Regions from separate parts of the Homo sapiens genome. Here all the other regions are linked to region 2. The links are contacts of gene promoters, found by promoter capture Hi-C in blood cells and fetal thymus (Javierre and others, 2016). All regions are on one chromosome and are shown on one strand. The core of a region is centred on a gene start or on the middle of the fragment in contact, and the rest is flanking DNA. Distances in the headings are between cores, read along the strand shown. Region 1 overlaps PYHIN1 (pyrin and HIN domain family member 1). Region 2 holds the start of OR6K2 (olfactory receptor family 6 subfamily K member 2). Region 3 has its middle 2.1 kb from the start of PYDC5. Region 4 has its middle 18 kb from the start of PYDC5. Region 5 has its middle 6.4 kb from the start of AIM2.

Region 1 (2,700 bases), core at 77-2,576, 270 kb after region 2:
AGAGCTTGGGACCTATATTCAGCATTCTTAAAGAAAATAATTTCCAAGCAAGAATTTCACATACAGCCAAACAAAGCATCAAAAATGAAAAAGAAATGAGATCCTTTTCAGACAAGCAAATGCTGAGGGAATTTGTTACCACCAGACCTGCCTTATAAGAGATACTGAAAGGAACACTAAGTATGAAAAGGAAAGAACATTACCAGACACTACAGAAACACAATTAAGTACACAGAATAGTGACACTATGAAGCAACCACAGAAACAAGTCTGCATAATAATCAGCTAACAACACAATGACAGGATCAAATCTGCAGATGTCAATATTAACCTTTAATGTAAACAGGCTACACACTCCACTTAAAAGTCACAGAGTGGCAGGCTGGATAAAGAAGCAAGACCCAATGGTATACTGTCCTCAAGAGACCTGTCTCACATGCAATGACACCCATTGGCTCAAAATAAAAGGACAAAGAAAAATCTACCAAACAAATAGAAAGCAGAAAAAAAAAACAGAGGGTGCCATCATAATTTCAGAAAAAACAGACTTTAAACCAACAAAGAGTTAAAAAGACAAAGAAGGGCATTTCATAATGGTAAAGGCTTTCATTCAACAAGAAGACCTAACTACCTTGAATATATACACACACAACACAGGAGCACCTAGACTCATAAAACAAGTTCTCAGAGACCCACAAAGAGACTTAGAGTCACATACAATAATAGTGGGAGACTTCAATACCACACTGGCAGTATTAGATCGATCATTCAGGCAAACAAAAAAAAATAGCAAAGATATTCAGGAACTGCACTCAATACTTGACAAGATGGACCTAATGGACATTTATGGAACTCTCAACCTAAAACAATGGAACACACATTCTTCTTACTGCCACATAGCACACACTCTGAAGTCGACCACACGATCAGATATAAAACAATCCTCAGCAAATTCAAGAAAACAGAATCATACCAACCACCTTCTCAGAACACAGTGCATAAAAGTATAAATCTATAGTAAGAAAATGGCTCCAACCATACAATTACATGGAAATTAAACAGCCTTCTCCTGAATGACTTTTGGGTGAATAATAAAGGCAGAAATAAAGAAATTCTTTGAAACTAATGAGAACAAAGATAAAATACATCAGAATCTCTGGGACATTGCTAAGTCAGTCTTAAGAGAGAGGTTTGTAGCACTAAGCGCTCACATCAAAAAATTTAAAAGATCTCAAATTAACAACCCAACATCACAACTAGAAGAACTAGAAAAGCAAGAACAATCAATCCCCAAGCCAGCAGGAGAAAAGAAATAACCAATATCAGAGCTAAACTAAAAGAAATTGAGATGTGAAAAAAACAGACAAAGATCAACGAATCCAGGAGTTCATCTGTTGAAAAAATTAATAAGAAAGATTGCTAGATAGACTAAAAAAAGAGACAAGATCTAAATAAACACAATTAGAAATGACCAAGGGAAATTACCACTGACCCCACAGAAATACAACAATCCTTCAGAGACTACTATAATCACCTCTATGCACACAAGCTATAAAACCTAGAAGAAATGGATAAATTCCTAGACACATACAACCTCTGAAGACTAACCCAGGAGGAAACTGAATAACTGAATAGACCAATAACAAGTTCTGAAATTGAATCAGTAAGAAAAAGTCTACCAACTAAAAGTAGCCCATGACCAGATGGATTCACAGCCAAATGCTATCAGATGCATAAAGATGAGCTGGTACCATTCCTACTAAAACTATTCAAAAAACTGGGGAGGAGGGACTCCTCTCCAATTCATTCTATGAGGCCAGCATCATCCTGATAACAAAAGGCAGAGACACAACAAAAAAAGAAAACTTCAGGTGGTTATTCTTGATGAACATACATGCAAAAATCCTCAAAAAAATACAAGTAAACAAAATCTAGCAGTACTTCAAAAAGCTAGTCCAACACAATCAAGTAGGCTTTATCTCTGGAATACAAAGTTACATATACAAAACAATAAATGTGGTTCATCACATAAACAGAACCAAAAAGCTACATAATCATCTCAATCGATGCAGAAACAGCTTTCAATAAAATGCAACATCCCTTCATGTTAAAAACCCTAAATACTCTAGACATTGAATGAACATACTTCAAAATAATAAGAACCATTTCCAACAAACCCACAGCCAACATCATACTTTATGGACAAAAGCTAGAAGCACTCCCCTTGAAAACTGGAACAAGACAAGGATGGCCTCCCTCACCATTCCTATTCAATAGAGTACTAGAAATCCCGGCCAGAGGAATCAGGCAAGATAAAGAAATAAAAGGCATCCAAGTAGGAAAAGAGAAAGTCAAACTATCACTTTTTGCAGATGACAAAATCCTGTATTTAGAAAAACCCATAGTCTCTGCAGAAAAGCTCTTTGATCTCATAAACAACTTCAGCAAAGTTTCAGGATACAAAATCAATATACAAAAATCAGTACACATTCCTATAAACCAACAACATCCAAGCTGAGAGTCAAAACAGGAATGCAATTCCGTTCACAATTGCCACAAAAATTGACAAAAGGATTTATTGTATTCATCAAGGTTGGAAATCACCATACTACATTTTTTTCTAGAGCAGGCTATTTGTGGGATGAGAGGGTTTTCTTAGAATGTAGTCTGTTTTGTATATTGTGTCTTATGTGACAGGCA
Region 2 (2,700 bases), core at 80-2,579:
AGTCTTATGAAGGATACTTTTTAAATTACCAGGTCTTACAGACAAATATTTTAATTGCTTTAAAATTAAAGTAAATGTTTATGCAGAACATTTCAACAAAATGAATTTACTTTGAATAACTTGAGTGGCAGAAACTGTAATTAATAAAGTCAGATTGAAAAATATGTCTAATTGAGTAATGATTAAATAGAAGTTATTGACGTTAGCTATTGCTGAATTTGTTTCCTTTTGTTTGGTTTGGTTTGGTTTGGTTTGGTGAGCTTTGGGAGACCAGTTTGAATAGAAGGTTGATAGGAAAAGACAGATTGCTGAGAGCTGAAGGTGAAGAGGAACCAGCAACTATACAGAATCTCAACTAAAATATCTTACTTGAGGTCCCTGGTCTTACGGAAAAAAATATCTTAGCTTGACCTATGTGCTTTTTTATAGCTTCTTTTATTTCTTTATTCCTCAGGCTATAGATAATGGGGTTGAAGAAGGGAGACAAAACTGCAAAGGCCAGAGCAATGGCTATATCCCAGAACAAAGAGTAGGTGGCAGAGAAGCGTAGGTACATGAGAGTCACACTGCCAAAGAAGAGCGAAAAGACAATGAAGTGAGAGACACACGTGGAAAATGCTGTGCGGCGGCCTCCAGCTGAATGAATACGTAGAATTACAGCCACAATACCATCGTAGGACATGAAGATGAGCATCACAGCTGTAATAATCTCCACTGCATGAATGACATCCACTACCTGAATCATGACGATGGCTCGTGTGTCTGTGCAGGCCAGACGCAGCACTGGGAGGAAGTCACAGAAGATATGTTCAAGGTGATTCGAACCACAAAATGGCAGTGTAGAGATCCAGGCAATCTCAGGAAGGGGTGTGATAAAGCCACAAACACAGCAACTTAAAGTCAGTTGGGTACATAGCTTGGGGGTCATGATAGAGGGATAATGAAGAGGGCTGCATATGGCCAGGTAGTGGTCAAAGGCCATAACTGTCAAGAGACACACCTCACAGATGCCGGTGGAATGGAAGAAATACATCTGCAGGAGACAACCATTGAAGGAAATGCTCCTCTCACTAAGCAGGCTAGACAGCATCTTTGGGATTGTGGCTGTGGTATACCAAATCTCCAGGAAAGAAAGAGCACTGATAAAAGTATACATGGGAGTGTGGAGGTGAGTATTCAACTGGACCACTGTGATGATGACCAGGTTTCCAACAACAATGAAAGCATAGATGAAGAGCAGTGGAACAAAGCAGACAACAGACTTAACCCAGGAATAAGGGAAAGCGGAGAAGATAAACTCCTGAATGGTGGTTCGATTGGGGCTCTCCATCTCCAAGTTGAAAGTGAGAGTTTCAATTTCCAGTGCACTCAAGCCTTCTAGGAGGCATCTACTATTGGATAAAGGAATACACTTACAAGAAGCCAGCGTCTGAATAGAGCCCTGTAATGGGGATAGAGAGGAAGACAAGGAAGAAGGACATGGTCCATATTCTATAGTTGCTTACGACTTAAGTTGTAGTGTGGAAAAAATCCAGTCAGAAAGCACAGTCAATATTTTGGATGTGAGATTCTCAGATATATTAACATGCATCAGAATCACCTGGAGGGCTTGTTAAAACTCATATTGCTGGTCCTCATACTGAGAGTTCGGTCCTAATCTGTAGTTCTGAGGTAGGACCCAAGAATTTTCATTTCTAACAAATTTTCAGGCAATGGTGGTCCTGCTGGTCAGGGGACTATATTTTAAAACAACTTTGTTTAGGCGAATATAGAATTAGACAGAGCATTGAAGGAATAATCAATAATTAAGAGGACGTTCTTTTCGATATTTAAATCTTATTGATTCCCTAATAATCTCCCCACATTGTTCCATATATTTTTTCTTCAAGCTCCCAGTTTATTGGATTCTTGGCATATGATTTGATTGGCATATTTTTATAATAAAGACAAAACCATTACTGGTGAATTCTTTCAACCCTCTTTCTCTAATAACTCTTCCTCTCTTCATATGTATATTCTTAACCATAATTCAGAGAATATTTGGAGAAGAAAAGCCATATAAATAATCATAAGTTATTTTACCTTGTTTTATAAGATAGTCTATTCTATCTCCTTCCTTTCCTTCTCTTCTACGTCTTCTTGGTAAGGAGATCTTAAAGGGGTTTTGTACCAGAAGCCTTTGGTCAAATGTAGTAACTTATGAAAACTAACTATATTAATAAATAAATGCTTAATATAGTTGTACACTTGCTCTGGTACAATTGAATGGTGGTAGTTAGAAGGAAGGGCAGAGCTGCAGTGCCCTGTAGAATACAATTTAAACTACACACATTATAGGAAATTGTCCTATTAATTTATTCTCTTTTCAGAATGTTTTGTTTTACTTTATTTGTCTCTTCTGCAATCAAACATGCACATTTCTTCTTATCTTGGGAGAAAATACTGTTTCTATTCAGGTTATTTCCCTCCTTTGTAACAACTGCATTATTTTTCCAATGTGTAAAAGGTATTTATTCTATTCATTCTTCTTTGAATCTCTGAATAATGTATCCACCCTCAACTTCCCATATCTCTTTTCTTAAGGTATACTAGCGACTTTCTCATTGAAATTTAATGGCCTCCCTCTGTCTTCATTGCCACTAACTTCCAAAGGTCAATTGCCCAATGTTTGAAATTCCTTTTTTTGCCTATTTGACACCA
Region 3 (2,721 bases), core at 222-2,721, 300 kb after region 2:
CAAATTCCTAAAGGAGCTCGATCTCTGTTACCTAAGCAATCCCTCCTCTGTTTTGCTCTTTTGTGATTCTTAGGCTGGAATCACGTTTTGGCTCTATCAGCCTAAGGAGCAGTTAGCCACCTGTCACTGAGTTAGGGAACAAAAAGACCAAGGCGATAGGTATTTGCACCATAAACTTCTCCTATCTTGTATGTCCATAATTCTGTATTATTATTATTATTATTATTATGTTTTGAGACGGGGTCTCGCTTTGTCGCCCAGGCTGGAGTGCAGTGGCATGAGCTCGGCTCGCTGCAAGCTCCGCCTCCTGGGTTCACACCATTCTCCTGCCTCAGCCTCCCGAGTAGCTGGGACTATAGGCGCCCGCCACCATGCCCAGCTAATTTTTTGTATTTTTAGTAGAGACGGGGTTTCACTGTGTTAGCCAGGATGGTCTCGATCTCCTGACCTTGTGATCCGCCCGCCTCAGCCTCCCAAAGTGCTGGGATTACAGGCGTGAGCCACCGCGCCCAGCCAATTCTGTATTATTTTGCATTTCTGACACTCATGACTTGATACCTTAAACATTCAAACACATAGAAGCACTTATTTGTGTGAACAGCAGTTTCTTTCCTTGAACCAAAGATTGTCAACCCTTAATCTAAAACATAAAAGGAAATAAAATTCAAACACCACTTCTCCATTACTTGTAAATTTTATTTCTCTCTTCTTAATATATTAATACCCAAATTCCAGCCAAAATATTAAGGATGGATGTGGTGGCTTATGCCTGTAATCCCAGCACTTTGGGAGGCTGAGGTAGGTAGATTGTTTGAGCTCTGGAGTTTGAGATCAGCCTGGGCAACATGGCAAGACCTTATCTCCAAAAGAAAAAAAAAAGGTTAAGAAATCTAAATTTCAGTTAATTTTGCCCTTATTGCTAAGTAAATCTGAGTAAATTATAGATGTTAGTAATTTGGGGTAAGAATTCCCAAAACCAGCCGGGCATCGTGACTCACGCCTCTAATCCCAGCACTTTGGGAGGCCGAGGTGGGTGGGTCACTTGAGATCAGGAGTTTGAGACCAGCCTGGCCAGCATGGTGAAACCTTGTCTTTACTGAAAATACAGAAATTAGCCAGGCTTGATGGTGCATGCGTGTAATTCTGGCTACTTAGGAGGCTGAAGCAGGAGAATCACTTGAACCTGGGAGGCAGAGGTTGCAATGAGCCGAGATCGTGCCATCACAACAGAGCAAGACTCCGTCTCAAAAGAAAAAAAATTCCCAAAACCAGATGTTTAGGGTGGAGAGTTCATTACTGACAACAGTAGAGAATCTCATCTTCAATTTTAGAGATAAATTATATCAAGGGAAATTTTGACAGCCAAAGTGAAGTCCTGAAATTAAACAGAGTAAAGAAATTATCAATCTAGTAAAGATCCTCAAAGAATGCTTTCTGGAGAACAGTTTTAGATAAAATAAGCAAATAAAGAATGAAGATAGCAGAGATAAAGCCGGAGAAGTAGAAACTATCAATGTTTTTACCCCCTTCAAAAATAATGTTGAAACTTAGTACCCAATGCAACAGTGTTGGGAGCTTGGGCCAAATGGGAGGTATTTAGATCATGAGAATTTCACTCACGTAAATAGACTGATTAATGCCACTCTAACGGGCATGTAGGGGGTGAATTCGCCCCGTTTGTCATGTGAGGACACAGCAAGAAGGCCTCACCAGATACTGATGCTTGACCTTGGACTTCCACCTCAAGTACTGTGAGAAATACATTTCTGTTCTGTATAAATTACCCAGTCTATAGTATTCCATTACAGCAGCACTAAATGGACTAAGACAGTGGGAAAGTATGCATGTCCATTACAGGGAGGGTCAGAGAACAGGAGTTTTCATGAACCAGAAACTTCTTTCACTCATATTTTCTCCATGAGACATGCAATAAACAGATGAATGATGCCAACTCTGGCCTTGTACAGTATATCATGACTGGTTCACATCACTCCCCAGGTTTCCATATGCATTCACTCTCCTCTCCTGCCTCAACACTGAGTCTCTTTTATTCCACTCCAAAGTAAAGAGGTCATCCCTAGAACTACAGAAGCTCTTTCTGCCAACAGAGTTGTCTGGAGTTTATGGCATTAGCTTTGAGCAACAGGAAAAGTAGAATACAAAACTGCAATACAGAAACTACAAAATTTCAAGGAAGGACTGGCTGAGAGAAGCCTTGAGGTTGGAGGGGAAGGAATGGCATTGTTGTGAAAACGTGTTCTGGGAACTGAGCTTAAATTGAATTGTAGGAGGCTGCAGTCCCACTGGAAAATGCATACTGGCACCAAGATGACTGCTGCTTCCAGGAACATCCTCCCACTCCTTAGCAATGTGGAACAGATTGAAGGAAGCTCAAACAATCCATTTAAGCAGGAAGTAAATAGATTAAGAGAGCAACCAGATGGCCTAAGGCACTATCGGTATAGCTATCCCCACCCCTCAGCGCCCCCATCAGCTTTTCCTTCCTTGTTTCTTCTCACTGTCTGAAAGACTACTCAGGCGTGCACTGCGAGGTGGAGATCTGACTTCTCTTGTTCCCGCTTAAGACTGCCTCCTGTGTAAGTTTCTGCTATCTAGATCTTTGACTACCAACCAGCCAGGAGTGGTCTGCCTCTTCTTTGGTCTGAGCTTGCCTTGTGCTTATATTGTTGTACCCAAGCGAGTTAAGAAAATACCCCACAC
Region 4 (2,700 bases), core at 117-2,616, 280 kb after region 2:
GCAAAAGGAGGTAGTTTGACTTCCTTTCTTTCTATTTGGACGTCTTTTATTTTTTTTTCTCTTGCCTGACTGCTCTGGCTAGAACTTCCAGTGCTATGTTGAACCAGGAGTAGTGAGAGTAGGCAACTTTGTCTTGTTCTGGTTCTCAAGAGGTATGATTTCAGCTTTTGCCTATTTGTGATATGATGTTGGCTGTGGTTTTGTCATAGATGTCTCATTTTGAGGTATGTTCCTTTGATACCTAGTTTGTTGAGGGTTTTTAACATGAAAGAATGTTGAATTTATTGAAACCTTTTCTGCATCTATTTAGATAATCACGTGATTTTTGTTTTTAGTTCTGTTTATGTGATAAATCACATTTACCAATTTGCGTATGTTGAACCAACTTTGCATTCCAGGGGTAAAGCTTACTTGATCATGGTGGCTTAGCTTTTGCTGTGCTGCTGGATTTAGTTTGCTAGTATTTTTTTTTGAGGACTTTTGCATCAATATTTATCAGGCATATTGTCCTGAATTTGTTTTTCCTTTGTGTTTCTGTCAGGTTTTGGTATCAGAATAATGCTGACCTCATAGAATGATTCAGGGCAGAGTCTCCGCTCCTCAATATTTTGGAATAATTTTGGTAGGATTGGTATCAGCTCCTCCTTATCTATCAGGTAGAATTCAGATGTGAATCTGTCTGATCCATGGCTTTTGTTGGTTTGTAGGTATTTTATTATGGATTCAATTTCAGAACTTGTTATTGATCTGTTTAGGTATTCAATGTCTTCCTGGTTCAATCTTGGCAGGTTGTATGTTTTCAGGAATTTATCTGTTTCTTCTAGATTTTCTAGTTTTTCAGCATAGAAATTGTTCATAATGGTCTTTGAGAGTTTTTGTATTTCTGTGGGTTCCATGGTAATGTCCCCTTTGTCATTTCTAATTGTATTTATTTGGATCTTCTCCTGTTTTTTTTTTTTTTTTTGTATATTAATCTGGCTAGTGGTCTATATATCTTATTCTTTCAAAAAACCAATTTTTAGTTTTCTTAATTATTTTTGTGAATTTTCACATCTCAATTTTATTTGGTTCAACTTAGATTTTGATTATTATTTTTCTTCTGCTAGTTTGGGGGTTGGTTTCCTTTTGTTTTTTCTAGTTCCTGTAAATGTGATGTTAGGTATAAATTTAAGATATTTCTGACTTTTTGATGTAGGCCTTTAGTGCTATAAACTTTTCTCTTAACACTGCTTTAGCTGTGTCCCAGAGACTCTGATATATTGTATTTTTGTTTTCATTAGTTTCAAAGATTTCTTGATTTCTGCATTAATTTAATTTATTACCCAAAAGTCATTCAGGAGTAAGTTGTTTAATTTCCAAATACTTCTATGATTTTCAGAGATCTTCTTGGTATTGATTTGTATTTTTGTTGCACTGTGATCTGAGAGTGTGGTTGATATAATTTCTGTTTTTTGAATTTCCTGAGCATTGCTTTATGGCCAAGCATGTGGCCAAGCATGTGGCACAGAGTATGTGCCATGTGCAGATGAGAAGAATGTATATTCTGTTGTTGAGTGGAATGTTCCTTATATGTCTGTTAGGTCAATTTAGTCAAGTGTGAAATTTTGTTCCTGAATATCTTTGTTAGTTTTCTCCCTCAATGATTTATCTAACAATGTTAGTAGGGTGTTGTATTCTCCCACTATTATTGTGAGGTTAGCTAGTTCTCTTCATAGGTCTCTAAGAACTTGTTTTATGAATCTGGTTGTGCCAGTGCTGAATGCACACATCTTTAGGATAGTTAAGTCTTGTTTGTAGAATTGAACTTTTTATCATTATGTGATGCCCTTCTTCATCCTCTTTGATAGCTTTTGGTTTAAGGTCTGTTTTTTTTTTCCTGAAATAAAAGAGCAACCCCTGCTCTATTTTGTTTGTTTTCCATTTGCTTTATAGATATTCCTCCATCCATTTAATTTAAGCCTGTGTCTTTACATGTAAGGTGGGTCTCTTGAAGACAGCATGTAATTGAGTCTTGCTTCTTTATCCAACTTACCATTCTGTGCCTTTTAAGTGGAGTGGTTAGCCTGCTTATGTTCAAGGTTAATATTGATATGTAAGGATTTGATCCTGTCATAGTGTTATTAGCTGGTTGTTATGTAGACTTGATTGTATAGTTGCATATTGTGTCAGTGGAATATTTACTTAAGTGTGTTGTTTTGTGGCAGGTAGCAGCCTTTTGTTTCCATGTTCAGCACTCCCTGAAGGACCTCTTATAAGGCAGGCCTAATGGTAACAAATTCGCTTAGTGTTTGTTTGTCTGAAAAGGATTATGTTTCTTTTTCACTTACAAAGCTTGGTTCGGCTGGATATGAAATCATGGTTAGAATTTCTTTTGTTTAAGAATGCTGAATGTAGGCCTTTAATCTTTTCTGGCTTGAAAAATTTCTGCTGAAAGGTCCACTGTTAGTGTGATAAGGGTTCCCTTTGTACATGATCTGCCTCTTCTCTTTTGCTGCCTTTCATATGTTTTATTTACCTTGATCTTGGAGAATTGGATAACTATGTGTCTTAGGGATTGTCATCTTGTGTAATATCTTGCTGGGGTACTCTGAATTTCCTGAATTTACATGTCAACCTCTCTAGCAAGGTCAGGTAAATTTTCAGGGACAATATCTTCAAATATGTTCTCCAAGTTGCTTGGTCTCTCTCCCTCTCTTTCTG
Region 5 (2,700 bases), core at 170-2,669, 380 kb after region 2:
GGGAAGTAAGCTCCAGCTCCCTGAAAACAGGAGGCAGTGAAGCACTCTTAATTTTTGTTTTCAATTTCATTGATTTCAGCTCTAATTTTTTAAAACTGTATTTTCTTATGCTTACTTTGCAGTTAATTTACTCTTATTCTTCTAGTTTCCTAATGTGGGAGCTTAGATGATTGATTTTTAGGTCTTTCTTTTTTTCTAGCCACATGCTTTTAAAATTACAAAACACCAAGGAGAGAGAAGATCCTAAAAGCTTCCTGAGAAAGAATAGATCATATCTGAGGATTAGGAATAAGAATAGAATTGGCATTCTTGACAACAACACTAGAAGCTAGAAGAGAGTGGAGCAATTCCTTTAACATTTGAGGAAAACAATTTTCAGCCTCGTCTTCTATACCTAGCTGATAATTATAATAATCACATGTACATGTAAGGAAGGAACAAAATTATTCAGGAATCTCCATGTCTCAGTTTGTTTGGGCCTCTATAACAAAAATACTATAGACTAAGTGACTTATAAACAACAATTTATATACACATTTATTTCTCACAATTCTGGAGGCTGGGAAGTCCAAGATCAAGGTACCAGCATATTCAGTACCTGGTGAAGACTTGCTTCCTGGTTCAAAGACAGCCATCTTTTTTCTTTTCTTTCTCTCTTTCTTTTTTTTAAAGGCAAGGTCTTGCCATGTTGCCAAAGCTGGACCCTAAGTCCTGGACAGCAGGTGTGCACCACCACACCTAGCAAGATGATGGCTTTTTGCTGTGTCCTCACATGGCAGAAGAGATGAAAGTGCTCCCTGGGCACTATCCCACGTAGTATAAGAGCACTAATCCTATTCACGAAGCCCATACCCTCAAGATCTAATCGCCTCCCCAAAGCCCCACCTCCTAATATCATCACATTAGGGGTTAGGATTTTAACATATGAATTTTGGGGGTAACACAAACATTCAGTCCACAAGGATGATGTCACCCCAGGATAATGGTGACCAGAAGCCCTTGAACCTTGACTTGTACACAGCTAGACTGAAACTTGTTCAAAACAGGGGGACGGAAAGCTCAAAAAAGAATATTTCCTAAGGAAAAAGTGTGTGAGATATATGTGTAAGTTTTGCAGGTAGTGGGTGGTTGCAGAGAAATTACCTGAATTTATTTTGAGAGAAATTTTACTGTTTTGGATCTTTTAAAAGAATTAGCAATAAGCACGTCAAGATGGAACAAATTATTAAAGATATGTCACTGACTTCAGAAAAAAATAAAGATGCATAAAGAAGGAATCTAAACATACTACATGGCTTAACTATTAGTTTTATTTAGATAGTTATGGTAATGTAAAACACCAAACAGTGATTTAATCAACAATTGTGAAATGACCATATTGGGAAAGTGGAAAGAGAGATGATGTACATGTATTTGTAAGATGTAGGGTTCCAACAATGTAAGAAAAGAGGTGTAAGAAAAGTAAATTTGTATCTTCTATTGCAGCAAATCAATAGATAATGGAGTGGCTAAAATTGAAAACTAGGAATGTAGCAATATTATGAAAGGTTAAAAAATGTTGCCTTGAGTGAGTGGGAATTGGGAGTGGTAAGGTATGAGGCAGGGGACTACTCTTTATTATCATCCTTGTAATATTATTGAATTTCAATCAATAGTAATATATTAACTGAATGAAAATAAATTTAAAACATAAATAGCTCTACTAAATGCTCATTGAAGTATCTTCCTATTCTAAGGATTTATATTCTATACCATTTAGCTCTACTAAATTTTAGCTCTACTAAATACTCACCCAAGTATCTTCCTATTCTAAGGATCTATATTCTATACTATCCTAAGGATCTACATTCTACACCATTAATCCAAATATGACCTATGATAAAATATAATAATATTTCAGAAATAGAATTCTTTACTTCCAGCTAAGTGAATTTGGAAAGGTCCAATTAGAGAAAAACAATAGCACTTGGACTAGTCCTATTGGAAGGAATAAGAGTTTTAACATGTGGAAATACAAAAAGTGGAATTCTAGGCCAATGGAATTGAATAGTCAATATTTATGGACCACCTATATATAACCAATTATTGATGCATTCTCTAGAGTCCCTAATTGCCTCTGGCACACAGAGCTAACCTTTACCACTCAGCCAGTAAGCCAATAAGTGAGAGATCTTTTTCACAGGCTATCTCATGTAACCCTACCACTCTATGTGGTAAATATATTAATTGAAACCCATAAGTGAGGGAACAGAGTTTAAAGAAGTTAAGTCATTTGCTCAAGGGTACCCTGCTAGTATGTGGTAGAGTCAGAATTTAAATCTGGTTATTTTCTAAAATTCCAATTCTCTTTCCATCACTCTGCCCTGCTTTTTGGCATATTTGTACATAATTTATATATTCTATATAATGTGATCAAATGAAAAAACCCTGGAGAGGCAGGGCCTTCCCTCCTCCAAGCCCACTTATTTCTGGTTCTCGCTCACCACATCCTTCCCTTCTCCTTTCACACAGCTCAAAACACAGCTAGACTTCCTACTGGAGAGAAAGCAACAATCTTGAACTGTTCAAGATTCCTACTGCAAACAACATAAGCTTCCCTTGATAGTTTAAGGAGACAGAAACTTTATTAAAAATATTAAACCCAGGCCAGGCACGGTGGCTCATGCCTGTAATTCTAGCACTTTGGGAGGCCAAGGCGGG

What was found. The method cuts DNA at HindIII sites, captures the fragments that hold promoters and counts their contacts. A CHiCAGO score of 5 or more calls a contact.
Region 1: a contact is called between a fragment that was not itself captured here and the fragment with the promoter of OR6K2 in region 2, in 1 of 17 cell types (megakaryocytes). The highest score is 6.3, in megakaryocytes.
Region 3: a contact is called between a fragment that was not itself captured here and the fragment with the promoter of OR6K2 in region 2, in 1 of 17 cell types (erythroblasts). The highest score is 5.3, in erythroblasts.
Region 4: a contact is called between a fragment that was not itself captured here and the fragment with the promoter of OR6K2 in region 2, in 3 of 17 cell types (megakaryocytes, erythroblasts and M2 macrophages). The highest score is 8.2, in megakaryocytes.
Region 5: a contact is called between a fragment that was not itself captured here and the fragment with the promoter of OR6K2 in region 2, in 1 of 17 cell types (megakaryocytes). The highest score is 5.1, in megakaryocytes.

What each region holds. Positions count from the first base shown.
Region 1 is chr1:158,964,564-158,967,263 of GRCh38, forward strand. The region is part of intron 7 of PYHIN1 (pyrin and HIN domain family member 1); the gene reads left to right. Among named protein-coding and RNA genes, the nearest start is that of PYHIN1, 34 kb to the left of the region's middle. The HindIII fragment of the contact is 2,926 bases long and covers 1-2,700 here.
Region 2 is chr1:158,699,323-158,702,022 of GRCh38, forward strand. It overlaps OR6K2 (olfactory receptor family 6 subfamily K member 2), which reads right to left and starts at 1,330. Exons shown (of 1, transcript NM_001005279.3): 1 at 356-1,330. The coding sequence starts at 1,330. The coding sequence ends at 356. The HindIII fragment of the contact is 9,102 bases long and covers 1-2,700 here.
Region 3 is chr1:159,003,445-159,006,165 of GRCh38, forward strand. It overlaps a transcript of IFI16 not described here. Among named protein-coding and RNA genes, the nearest start is that of PYDC5, 2.1 kb to the left of the region's middle. RefSeq lists enhancers at 1,943-2,468, 2,469-2,721. The HindIII fragment of the contact is 4,916 bases long and covers 1-2,721 here.
Region 4 is chr1:158,983,082-158,985,781 of GRCh38, forward strand. It overlaps a transcript of PYHIN1 not described here. Among named protein-coding and RNA genes, the nearest start is that of PYDC5, 18 kb to the right of the region's middle. The HindIII fragment of the contact is 1,925 bases long and covers 405-2,329 here.
Region 5 is chr1:159,081,846-159,084,545 of GRCh38, forward strand. It overlaps a transcript of AIM2 not described here. Among named protein-coding and RNA genes, the nearest start is that of AIM2, 6.4 kb to the left of the region's middle. The HindIII fragment of the contact is 2,342 bases long and covers 249-2,590 here.